Regions from separate parts of the Homo sapiens genome. Here region 1 is linked to region 2. Evidence: promoter capture Hi-C in 16 types of primary human blood cells and fetal thymus (Javierre and others, 2016). All regions are on one chromosome and are shown on one strand. Each heading gives the region's core, a stretch centred on a gene start or on the middle of the fragment in contact. The rest is flanking DNA. Distances are from core to core; before and after follow the strand shown. Region 1 holds the start of PVR (PVR cell adhesion molecule). Region 2 holds the start of CEACAM16-AS1 (CEACAM16, CEACAM19 and PVR antisense RNA 1).

Region 1 (6,098 bases), core at 3,243-5,742, 81 kb after region 2:
AGGAAGGCTTCATGGAGCTCATGAAAATGAAAGCATGATCCCCTCCTCTTTTGGGTATCAGGATCCTTGCTTTCCTGTCTGTCTGTTTCAACTTTCTCCTTCTTCACCAGATAAAGTAACAGTAACCGACAGCTCTAAGGGGCTCACATGGGCCAGCGGTGAAGCGCCGCTGCCCTAAGGCTGCAGCTTTGGTCTTGGGCAAGTCTGTGCCTCAGTTTCCTTGTCTGTCAACAGGTGATAATGATGGAATCACAGGCAATTAGAATATGCAGGTAAAGCTCTTAGAATGGCACATAATAAGTGCTCAATAAATATTGTTTGGTGGAAAGTGCTGGGGCCCAGCAGTGATCAAAATAGCCCCGGTTCTGCCCTCATGGGTACACAGTCCAAGGGGGCAGACAGACTCTTTCCTAGGCAGTGATGACACTCAGGACAGCTTTCCAAGGGTGATGCTGTTGTCACCAACCCTTTTACAGATGAGGAAAGGAGGGACCCAGAAGAGGCCACCCAGGCCTCCTCCCTTCCTTCCCAGTCCCCTCCCAGCTCCCTTTCCAATATACCCCTCCTCCTCCCTCAGGGCTTTCTGATCCCAGGCTTGGGGGTCCTTACTCCCTGAGATCTCTGCTTTCTTCCTGCCCTGCAGCCCCTCCCCCCACTCACCTCCCCCCACCCCACCCCACATCATTGCGCTGCCCCCTCCTTTTGTCCCCAGGGGATCTGCTGTGGAGGGAATCTCCCTCCCTCCCAGGCCTCCCCGCTCTTTGCCAACTTCCCTGATCCTCCCACCAAGTCTCTGCCTTTCATTCAGCCTCCCCAAAACCCCCTGCTCACCAAGCACTCGGAGCCAGATATCCACGCTCCTGCTGCCCTGCGGGAACGTGACGAACAGGCAGGTGTAGTTGCCTTCATCCTCTACGCGCAACCCGAACATCCTCAGCGAGGCATTCCGCAGCTCCGCGCCCAGTCTGGCTGCCACGAATTCCAGCCGTTTGGACTCCGAATAGCTGGGGCCCTGCGTTTGGTGGAAGACGGCCATGCTGCCAGATTCACCATGCCGCGCCCAAGTCAGCTGTGACACATGCGTCACCTCCATGTTGGGCACCTGTAGGTAGCAGGGCAGCGTCACGGAGTCGCCCAAGAAGCCGGGCACCTGGGTGGGCGCCTGCACGACGACGTCCCCTGCGGAGAACCGAAGAGAAGGTGTCAGACCCGGGGCGTTCTTGGACTAGATAGGGAGGGGCTCCAGGAGCCCGGGCACCTGGGCGTGCACTTGCACGCTGGGGCCCTGGATCCCCGGTGGACCGTGGGGTGTGGGGGGAGGGGGAACTGGGGCACTAGTTGGGGCCATGGCAGGCGAGGAGGGTAAGGGCGTCTGGGATGGTCTGCAACTTGGCCGTGCTCCTTCACTTTGGCTATTTATTACCGTATTTCTTCTATTATTACCGTATTTCCCTGAATCTCAACATCACTGATTTAAAAAATTGTGGTAAATATTGTGGTTAAAAAACTAAATTTACCATTTAAGTCATTTAAAGCATACAGTTCAGTGGCACTATGTACATTTCACGATATTGTGCAACCGTTACTACTATATAGCGCCAGAACTTTTTCTTTTCTTCTCTTTTTTTTTTGAGACGGAGTCTCTCTCTGTCGCCCAGGGGGAGTGCAGTGGCGCGATCTCTGCTCACTGCAAGCTCTGCCTCTGGGGTTCAAGCGGTTCTCCTGCCTCAGCTTTCCGCGTAGCTGGGATGACAGGCTCCCACCACCACACCTGGCTAATTTTTTGTATTTTTGTTTTTAGCAGAGATGGGGTTTCACCATGTTGGCCAGGCTGGTCTTGAACTCCTGACCTCAAGTGATCCTCCCACTACGGCCTCCCAAAGTGCTGGGATTACAGGTATGAGCCACCGCACCTGGCCCAGAACTTTTTCATCGCACCAGTGTCGTAGGTTTCACATACCATGACTGTTGTCATTTATAGCACAACTTGCCATTAGGGGTTAGAATAACCCCAATGTAGAAAACGGGGAGAAATCTTGGGTCTTCAAATCCATGAAACACTGCATTATTACTCTGGGTGGGTCCTGGTTGGAAGAATGTGGGGGATTGAGGCACGAGAGGAAGGCAATTATAGCCCAGGAGTTTTGGGTCCCTTCAGTTTTCTGCTGTGGAGCTTCAGGCCGGTTACTTAACCTCTCTGATTCTTTTTCCTAGTTTGTAAAATGAGACTTAGAACAGTGGACACTCACAGGGTGCTGACACAGATCAGGGGCTATTCTGGGTGCTTCACATATATCTTGGCATTTAATCCTCAAATAGCCCCCCTGAGGCAAGCACTACTGTTAACATCATTTTACAGACAGGGAAACTGACACAGAGTATAGTGTCCTCCAAGTCATACAGAGGTTTAGTGGCAGAGGTGGGATTTGAACTTGGGCGGTCAGAGACTGACCTCTAATCCCCCAGGTCCTATATAAAAATCTTTCTGCTAAGGGCCCTAGCACATAGTAGGTCCTCAAAATGTGACAGCGCTTATTGACACTAATAAACATGGTCCTATGCATTCTTTTTTATTTTTAAATTTTTATTTAGTTAATTATTTTTGTAGAGATGGGGTCTTGCCATATTGCCCAGGCTGGTTTTGAATTCCTAAGCTCAAGTGATCCTCCCACCACAGCCTCCCAAAGTGTTGGGATTACAGGCATGAGCCACTGTGCTTGGCTGCAACCAGCCTGGGCAGCATAGCGAAACCCTGTCTCTACCAAAAATACAAAAAAAATTAGCCAGGTGAGCACCTATAATCCCAGCTACTCCAGAAGCCACAGTGAGAGGATCGCTTGAGCCTGGGAAGTCGAGTTTGCAATGAGCCGGGATTGTACCACTGCACTCCAGCCTGGGCAACAAAGCAAGACCTTGTCTCTCTCATACACACACACACATACACGCACACACGCACTATATATATATATATATATATATATATATACACAAAACATATAAATAAATAATAAAATATGTTATCTATTTACTCTTTAAATGTATAATAAAATATATATTATTTATTATATAAATAATATATGTTATAAATATATAATATATTTAATATATATTTATTAAGAAATATATTATTATATATTATCAATTATATAATACATAATACATATTATATATTATAATAATATATATAATATATAATATACATATTATATATTATAATAATATATATAATATATAATATACATATTATATATTATAATAATATATATAATATATTATAATATATTATATATTACTATAATATATATTATATATTTTATTATATATTATATATTACTATAATATATATTATATATTTTATTATATATTATATATTACTATAATATATATTATATATTTTTATTATATATTACTATAATATGTAATATATAATAATAATATATAATATATATATTTATCAGGAGTTTGAGACCAGCCTGGCCAACATGGTGAAATCCTGTATCTACTAAAAATACAAAAATATTAGCCAGGCATAGTGGCACATGTCTGTAATCCGAGCTACTCGGGAGGCTGAAGCAGGAGAATCGCTTGAACTCGGGAGGAGGAGGCTGCAGTGAGCCGAGAGCAGGACACTGCACTCCAGCCTGGGTGATGGAGTGAGACTGTCTCAAAAAAAAAAAAAAAAGAATGAAAGAATGAATGAATGGCCAGGCCCCTGGAGTCAGACATTGGGGGTCAGAGGGGTAATGGTGTCAAGTGTCACCCACTGTCCTCCTCCCCAACATCAACCATCCCCTCCGTCCAGACCCAGCCTGCCAGCACGCTGCTGGGTTATGGCCTGGGTATGCTGAGCAGGAACCTGGGTAAGGTAATCCGGCATGCGTCACCATCTGCTGATTTTCCGGGATTCACTTGCCTTTTTGGGAAATTTCCTCACCCAACTCCATCCCCTTTCCGAGGGGCCCAGAGGAGGGTCTTGTGCCCGACCCGTGTTGCTGCCAATTTCGAGGAATTTCTGTACCCAACTCCGACCGCTCTCCGGGTGGCCAAGAGGAGGGTCCTGCCCTCGCACCCTCGCACCGTGTTCCTTCCAACCCCGGGGCAGAGATGGGGGGTGGGTGGCGCCGGGCGGGGCCGTCATCTTCGGGAACCCAAGGGGGCGAGTACCCGGCCTGGATGCGGAGCTGGGAGCCAGACAGGGGCCACCGGACTGCGCGGGGGTCACTCACCGGTTCCTGGGGGTGGCCAGGACAGCACCAGTAGCGCCACCAGCAGCAGCGGCCACGCGGCGGCCATGGCTCGGGCCATGCCAGTTGCTCCGAGCAGCTGGGCCTCCCGCGGGCGTCTCCTCGCTTCCCGGCGCCCGCTCGCTCTGCCGCGGTCGCTGCGAGTCCAGCTCCCGGAGCTCAGGTCCTGGAATCCCCGGGGGGCCGCTCCTCCAGTGCCTGGGGTGGGAAGGGGAATACCCACTTCTTCAAGCTCCAGACAAGTGACTGGAGCGGAGGGGAGTTGGCGGCCAGTCCCGCCAGGCGCGGGGTGGGCCACCCAGGCTGGCCCTCCCCGCGCGCCTGCGCCTGCGCAGGTCTCTCCCGGCGCTCAGTCCCGCTGCAGACGCGCGCTCGCTCCGTCGGTGCCCACTAGAAGAGGCGGCTTCCTGTGTGAGGTCGCCCACATTCCAGGTGAGGAAACGGAGGCACACGGAGAGATTCAGCAACTTACTAACGGCTCGCGGTTGCCGAGTGGCAGAGCTGAGGTTCCAACTCGTGATGGGACAGATCCTGAGCCCACCAGGCTGTCCTTCCACGCAGCCTAAACTTCCCATGGGCTTTGGGGTCAGACAAGACCAGGGCTCATGTTGGGCAAGTGGTTTCTCCTCGAGGGCCCTCAGATTCTTTATCTGAAAAATGGGCATAGTAGGGCGCGGTGGCTCAGGCCTGAATTCCAGCATTTTGGGAGGCTGAGGCAGGAGGACTGTGTGAACCCAGGAGTTAGAGGCTTCAGTGAGCTACCATTGCGCCACTACACTACAGCTTGGGTGGCAGAGCCAGACCTGTCTCAAAAAAAAAAAAAAAAGTTTGGGGGCTGGGGGAGCAAGCGCAGTGGCTGACGCCTGTAATCCCAGCACTTTGGGAGGCCGAGGCAGGAGGATCACCAGAGGTCCAGGAGTTCAAGACCAGCCTGGCCAACATGGCAAAAACCCATCTTTACTAAAAATACAAAAATTAGCCGGCATGGTGGCACATGCCTGTAATCCCAGCTACTGGGGAGGCTAAGACAGGAAAATCACTTGTACCCGGGAGGCAGAGGTTGCAGTGAGCCAAGATCGGGCCTCTGCACTCCAGCCTGGGCGACAGAGTGAGACTCTGTCTCAAAAAGAAAGAAAAAAGGGCATACTAACAGTACTTACCTCACAGCGTGGTCTGTAAAACTTAAACAAGAAACTGCCTAGCTCAATTTCGGGGATATAGTTTGTACTAAATAAAAAGCTGATATACCAACAATAGCAGCAGTGGCAGTGACAATTATTATTATTGTTGCTTTACAGTTGGCATCAAATAATAATGTTCATGAGAATGGTCATTCATTCATTCTTCATTCAGCATATATTTATTGATCCAGCCAGTATCCCAGGCACTGGGTATACAGCAGAAAATAAGACAGACAAAAATCTCTGCCTTTAATGAAGACCGTGTTCTAGTGGAGGGAAACAGACCATAAACAGATTAATACCAGAACTCCATCAGGTCTGGGGAAGATAAGGGTTATGGACCAGCCTGCAGTAGGGAGAGGGGAGGAGGGAGGGGGGAGAGAGAAAGAGAGAGAGAGAAAGAGAGAGAGAGAAAGAGAGAGAGAGAGAGAGAGAAATGAGAGAGAAACAGACACACTCAGAGATAAGGGCTGGGAGACAGAGACAGAGAGATTGAAAGAGATAGAGACACAGCATAGACAGAGGGAGATGAGAGAGAAATGAGAGGTGACAGAGAGACTCAGAGAGCCAAACCCTCAGAGACAGAAACTGAGAGACTTCCTGGTCCCCAGAGGTGGCTGTCCTGGCCAGGGTCTCCATGAGGCCGACTAACAGCTCTGGTCCCTGTGCTCTG
Region 2 (6,139 bases), core at 595-3,094:
GGAGTGCAGTCGCATGATCTTGGCTCACTGCAGCCTCCACCTCCCGGATTCAAGCGATTCTCATGCCTCAGCCTCCTGAGTAGCTGGGATTACAGGCGCATGCCACCACACCCAGCTAAGTTTTGTATTTTTTGTAGAGACGGGTTTTCACCATGTTGCCCAGGCTGGTCTCGAACTCCTGGGCTCAAGTGATCTGCCTGCCTTGGCCTCTCAGAGTGCTGGGATTACAGGCATAAGCCACCTTGCCCAGCCACCATTTTTTTTTTTTTTTTTTGAGGTTGAGTCTCTCTGTGTCGCCCAGGCTGGAGTACAGTGGCGCAATCTCGGCTCACTGCAACCTCTGCCTCTGGGGTTCAATCGGTTCTCGTGACCTCAGGTGATCCACTTACCTCAGCCTCCCAGAGTGCTGGGAAATACAGGTGTAGGCCACCGCGCCCGGCCCTACATCTTTACTTCTTTTGGTCGTGGGGGCTTTTGGAGAGGTACAGGGAACCAGGAGACGGAGGACAGAGAGGACCCAGGGGACCGGGCCTGGCCTGTTTGAGCTGAGACCTGAAGAGCATGGGGAAGTGTTTGAAGGAGGTGAACAAAAGGCTTTATTAGAAAACCAGAAAGGAGGCTGGGCGCGGTGGTGCATACCTGTAGTCCAAGCATTTTGGGAGGCTGAGGCGGGAGGATCGCTTGAGCCCAGGAGTTTAAGACCAGCCTGGGCAATGAGTGAGACCCTATCGCTAAAAAAAAAATTTAAAAATTTACCCAGGTGTGGTGGCATGTGCCTGTAGTCTCAGCTACTCAGGAGACTGAGGTGGGAGGATTGCTTGAGCCCAGGAGGTTGAGGCTGCAGTGAGCTATGATGGCACCACTGCATTCCAGCCTGGGGCCAGAGCAAGACCCTGTCTTAAAAAAAAAAAAAAAAAAAGAAAAAGAAAAGAAAAGAAAGAAAAAGAAAAAAAAATACAAGCAGTGAGTGGTCAGGCTGTGGCTGTGGCACAGCACTTGGCTTTCTCCTGGGGGCACTGGGGAGCCATGGCAGATTCTGACCAGGGGTCAGGGTTGGGTTTCCAAGGACGCCTCTGGGTGTGGTGCGGGCAGGGAGACCAGCTGTGCAGCAAGACACCAGGTGGCCTGGGTTAGGAGGTGGGTCAAAGAGGGAGGGGTGAAGGTTACCAATCATAGATTTAGGAGGCAATTTTCTTGGAAGGAAAGGGTGGGGTGCATGCTGGCTTGCTGGCGCCACTATCAGCCACTGTCCCAAGGTTTTCTTGTGCGTAAACTCATGGAGCGTTCACCACCACCCACTAGGTATCCTCATTGCACAGCTGGGGAAACTGAGGCTGAGAGAGACACACTCGCTGGCCCCAGATCTCACACAGCAGGTTATAGGAGCCAGCATTCAAACTCCTGGAGTCTGACTCCAGAGCTTGGACATTTTCACGCCCCTGACTCCTTAAAGCTGGAGAAGCTGAGGCTCCCAGTTGGGGTGAAGTTCCAGGTTCAAGACCACACAGCCGGGAACTAGAAAGGAAGGATTGAACCCACACCTTACCATGGGACACGGCCCTGCCCATCCCCTCTCCTCCCAGCAGCGTGAGGGCTCGACCTCCGGGGAGTCCCCGTTCTGGGTTGGGCGCCACTCCTCCCTCCCTATCCGCTTCGCGCCCGGAGCTCTCTCCGGACTTTAACCCTGGGCCGCCACTGGTGGCGACGCTGCCGATAAGGGGAGGTGGTTGGTGCAGAGGCCAGCAGGGCAAAATTCCCCTACTCCCGGTGCCAGGGGAGTTACCCAGGTCAGGGGCGGGGGCGGGGGAGGGCAGGGGCAGAGGAGCGGGCGGAGGGGGAGGTGGAGGCATCTGCAGCTGGACAGAGAAGTGGTGCTTTGTTTCTCTGTGCCTCAGTTTCCCTCTTGGTAAAATAGGCATGGTTCCTCCTATGGATGTAAGAAGGACCTAGGAACCTTTGCAAGGGCAGAGGAGTCCGCCCCTCTGGTCTGACTGGGAGACAAGGTGTTCCCCAATCTGATGGTGGGGACAAGGTGGCCCAACACAGTGGGAAAAATAAGGAAACTAAGGAGCTCTCACCAAATCCCATGAGGGAGACAGGACTGTCCAAATCCAATGAAGAAGATAAGAAGCTCCAGTCCTGTGCAGCAAGAACGAGTGTCCAGTCTATATTTCCAGTCTGCCAGGGGAGGTAAGGAGCAACATTCTGATGTGTAAGACAATGTATTTATTTTTGTGAGTCAGAGTCTCGCTCTGTCGCCCAGGCTGGAGTGCAGTGGTGTGATCTTGGCTCACTGCAACCTGTGCCTCCTGGGTTCAAGCGATTCTCCTGCCTCAGCCTCCTGAGTAGCTGGGATTACAGACGCACACCACCACGCCTGGCTAATTTGTTATTTTTAGTAGAGACCGGGTTTCACCGTGTTGGCCAGGTTTGTCTTGAATTTCTGACCTCAGGTGATCCTCCTGCCTCGGCCTCCCAAAGTGCTTGGATTACAGGCGGGAGCCACTGCACCTGGCCAGGAGTGATACTTTGATGTGTGAGACAATGCAGTTCTAATTTGATGGGGGAGATGGGTAGTCCTAGTCTGATGGGGGTGTTGAAGGGCTCCCATGCCTTCTGGGAGAGCTGATGAGCTTCCAAATGAATGATAGAAATGGGGAGCCCCTCAAACTGGTGGGGAGACAAAGAGCCTGCTAGTCTGATGAGGGAGGTAAGAATCTTCCTGTCTGAAGTGGGAGCCAGGGTGCTCCCGTCTGAGATTCCAAGGTGAGGAAAGAGACGAAGAACATACTCACTGCAGCTCAGCCAGCTCCTTCCTGAGCCTGGGAGTCAAATGGCCCCAGGATGCCTGGCCAGGGAGCCAGGACCAAAAGACAGAGACGATTTGCTCTCCTGACCCAGGGGCAGTTCTGCCCAGCTCTGGGCCTGATCTACTTTTGGCAAAAAAAGACCTGGCTGGTGGTGTACGGGCACCACCTAGCGGTTGCCATGGGCACGCCTTCCATCCGGAGCTTGGGGAGAGCAGCTCCTTGGAAGACCAGAGAAGGGCTCCTTGGACTCTCTCCCTGGGACCTGGGTCCAAGTACCAAACTACCCCTGAAACTGGATTCTGTGCATCATTCCATTCACCCTGCATGTGGCAGCTGGGGGAGTCTCTTGGAAGTACAAGCCTACCTCTGTCTGTCCCTTGCTCACAACTCTGCAGTGGCTCCCTGGTGCCCTGGGAGGAAGTCCACACCCGGCCACAAGGCTGGCTTCTTCTGAACAACCCTATGCTTCAGTTGAACAATAAGTAGTTTCTCAAAGGTGTCATATGCAAAACTTACCTTCAGGCCTTCGCACAGGCTGTTCCCTCTGCCAGGAACACCCTTCCCTGCCTCTTCCCCAGCATCTCTCCTACTCCTCCTTCAGGTCTTGGAGTAGATGTCTCCGCCCTCGTGAGCCCCCTGGTCAGGGTCATGGTCTGGTGGGGCTGTCGTGGTCACTGCTGTGTTCCCCTGGGGCCTGACACTGACAATGCACTCCAGGGAATGTTTATGGAATGAATGAGTGAATGAATGAATGAATGAATGAATGCCAAGCTAAAGAGTTTGCCAGGGCAGCTGTAGGAGAGTTTAATCAGGGCCAGGACACGATCGGATTTAGAAGCCCCTAGGCTCCCCCCAGCTTTTTTTTTTTTTGAGAGAGAGGGATGGAATCTGACTTCGTCGCCAGTGCAGTGGCGTGATCTTGGCTCACTGCAATCTCTACCTCCCAAGTTCAGGCAATTCTCGTGCCTCAGCCTGCCAGGTAGCTAGGATTATGGGTGCACGCCACCACGCCTGGCTAATTTTTGTATTTTAATAGAGACAGGGTTTCACCATGTTGGCCAGGCTGGTCTTGAACTCCTGACCTCAGATGATCCGCCCGCCTCGGCCTCCCAGAGTGCTGGGAATACAGGCATGAGCCACTGCGCCTTGCTGGAGCCCCTAGGTTTCCTCTCAACCCTAGGCTTTTGCACATACTCTTCCCTCTCCCTGCACTATTTACACCTAGTAACTCCCACTCATCCTCTAGGTATCAGATGAGCTGTCCCTTCCTCCAGGAAGCCCTCCTTGACCCCAGGCTGGGTCAGGCATGCGCTCTGAGCTCCTGCAGCCTCCTGGGCTCCTCCATCCCAGGCTGTGAACACTGCTGGGCTATTATTACCTGGGGACAAGTCTGCCTTCCCACTGGATCTGGGAGGGCAGGCTGGGTTCTGTTCACCCTCTCTGCCTTCTCCTCTGAGCTAACAACATCTGCTAGGACCTGGGTTCAAATCCAGATGCCCCTATCTTTGGAGCTCCTTAGGTGAGTGTGGGCCTCTCTTGGAGCCCCTGTTTTCTCGTGTGAAATGTGGGGAGAATGAGAAGCGTGCATGGAAAACCTCCCAGGGCTGTGGTGGGTGCAGTGAAGAGACGAGATCCTGAAGTCCCGAGCTGACCATGAGCCGGGTGACTACGGGTGACCCACTTCCCCTTTTGGGGTTCATCTGGCTGGATGAACGGTAGCAGCAGCCCCTTCCTGCCGGGACATTCTGGGAGGCCCGCTCGGGGCTTCCCGAGGTGGGAGGGTCAGGGACAGGCTGAGGGAAGAGGTGTCTGTTGGGTTAGGGGAAAACCAGTCTTCCCCATCATGAAACGGATGATGGGGGGGAAACAAACAAAGCTGGCTCCACCACGGCGTGAGGGGAAGTTGGGGGAGAGGATGAGGGGGCCCCATGAGGTGGGTGAAAACCACAGTCCACAACTTGTCGCCAACTTCCCGCCTGGAGCCTGTGTGCCTCGGGTGAGGCTCCCTCCTCATTGGCCTCAAACAAGACCTATCTTCATTCCAATCTCCAACCCAGCCCTGCCTGCAGCCTTCTGGCCTCAGAAATGGCAGCTTCATCCTTGCAGTGGCTCAGGCTCAAAGCTTGGAGACCCCTGACTCTTCTTGTCCCTCGCTTTACAATTCTGCCCCCAACAGTCTCTTTCCACCTCATGGCCAGAGGGATCCTGTTAGAACCTGAATCAGGGCCGGGCATGATGGCTCACACCTGCAATCCTAGCACTTTGGGAGGCTGAGGCAGGTGGATCACCTGAGGTCAGGAGTTCAAGACCAGCCTGGCCAACATGGCAAAACCCCGTCTCTACTAAAAATACAAAAATTAGCTTGGCGTGGTAGTGCATGCCTGTAATCCCAGCTACTCAGGAGGCTGAGGTAGGAGAATCACTTGAACCCCGGAGGCAGAGGTTACAGTGAGCTGAGTGGGCACCATTGCACTTCAGCCTGGGAGACAAGAGTGAAACTCTGTCTCAAAAAACAAAACAAAACAAAACAACAACAAAATTAGCTGGGTGAGTTGGCACATGCCTATAATCCCAGCTACTGGGAAGGCTGAGGCAGGAGAATCACTTGAACCCAGGAGGCGGGGGTTGTAGTGAGCCGAGATTGCGCCACTGCACTGCAGCCTGGGCGACAGAGCAAGTCTCCATCTAAAAAAAAAAAAGAAACTGAATCAGAACCCATCCAGCCTCTGTGGCTCCTACTTCACTTGGGGTGATGGCCAAAATCCTCGCCATGGCCCTCAAAAGCTGAATCCCTGCTCCTTTTTTTTTTTCTTTCTTTTTTTTTTTTTTTGAGAGGGAACCTCTCTCTGTTGCTCAGGCTGGAGCGCAATGGCGCCATCTCAGCTCACCACAACCTCTGCCTCCTGGGTTCAAGTGATTCTCCTGCCTCAGGCTCCTGAGTAGCTGGGATTACAGGCTTGCACCACAATGCCTGGCTAATTTTTGTATTTTTACAAAAATAGAGTTGAAGTTTCACCATGTTGGCCAGGCTGGTTTCGAATTCCTGACCTCAAGTGATCCGCCCACATCGGCCTCCCGAAGTGCTAAGATTACAGGCGTGAGCCATCACAACTGGCCATTTTTTGTCTTTTTGATGACAGCCATCCTAACTCAGGTGAAATAATACCTCATTGTTGTTTTGATTTGCATTTCCCCAATGAGTATGATGTTGAGTATTTTTTCATATACTTGTTGGCCATTGTATGTCTTCTTTTGAGAAATGTCTGTTAAGATAATTTGCCTGTTTAAAAAATTATATTGTTGGCCAGCCATGGTGGCTTACACCTATA

The links. Contacts are between HindIII fragments. The CHiCAGO score rates a contact against its expected background, and 5 or more counts as called.
Region 1: a contact is called between the fragment with the promoter of PVR here and the fragment with the promoter of CEACAM16-AS1 in region 2, in 2 of 17 cell types (monocytes and M0 macrophages). The highest score is 7.2, in monocytes.

Annotation. Positions count from the first base shown.
Region 1 is chr19:44,642,304-44,648,401 of GRCh38, reverse strand. It overlaps PVR (PVR cell adhesion molecule), which reads right to left and starts at 4,492. Exons shown (of 8, transcript NM_006505.5): 1 at 4,227-4,492; 2 at 832-1,179. The coding sequence starts at 4,305. RefSeq lists a silencer at 4,461-4,540. The HindIII fragment of the contact is 7,623 bases long and covers 1-6,098 here.
Region 2 is chr19:44,720,888-44,727,026 of GRCh38, reverse strand. It overlaps CEACAM16-AS1 (CEACAM16, CEACAM19 and PVR antisense RNA 1), which reads left to right and starts at 1,844. Exons shown (of 2, transcript NR_186815.1): 1 at 1,844-2,190. RefSeq lists enhancers at 4,206-4,265, 4,336-4,445, 4,576-4,725. The HindIII fragment of the contact is 7,565 bases long and covers 1-4,934 here.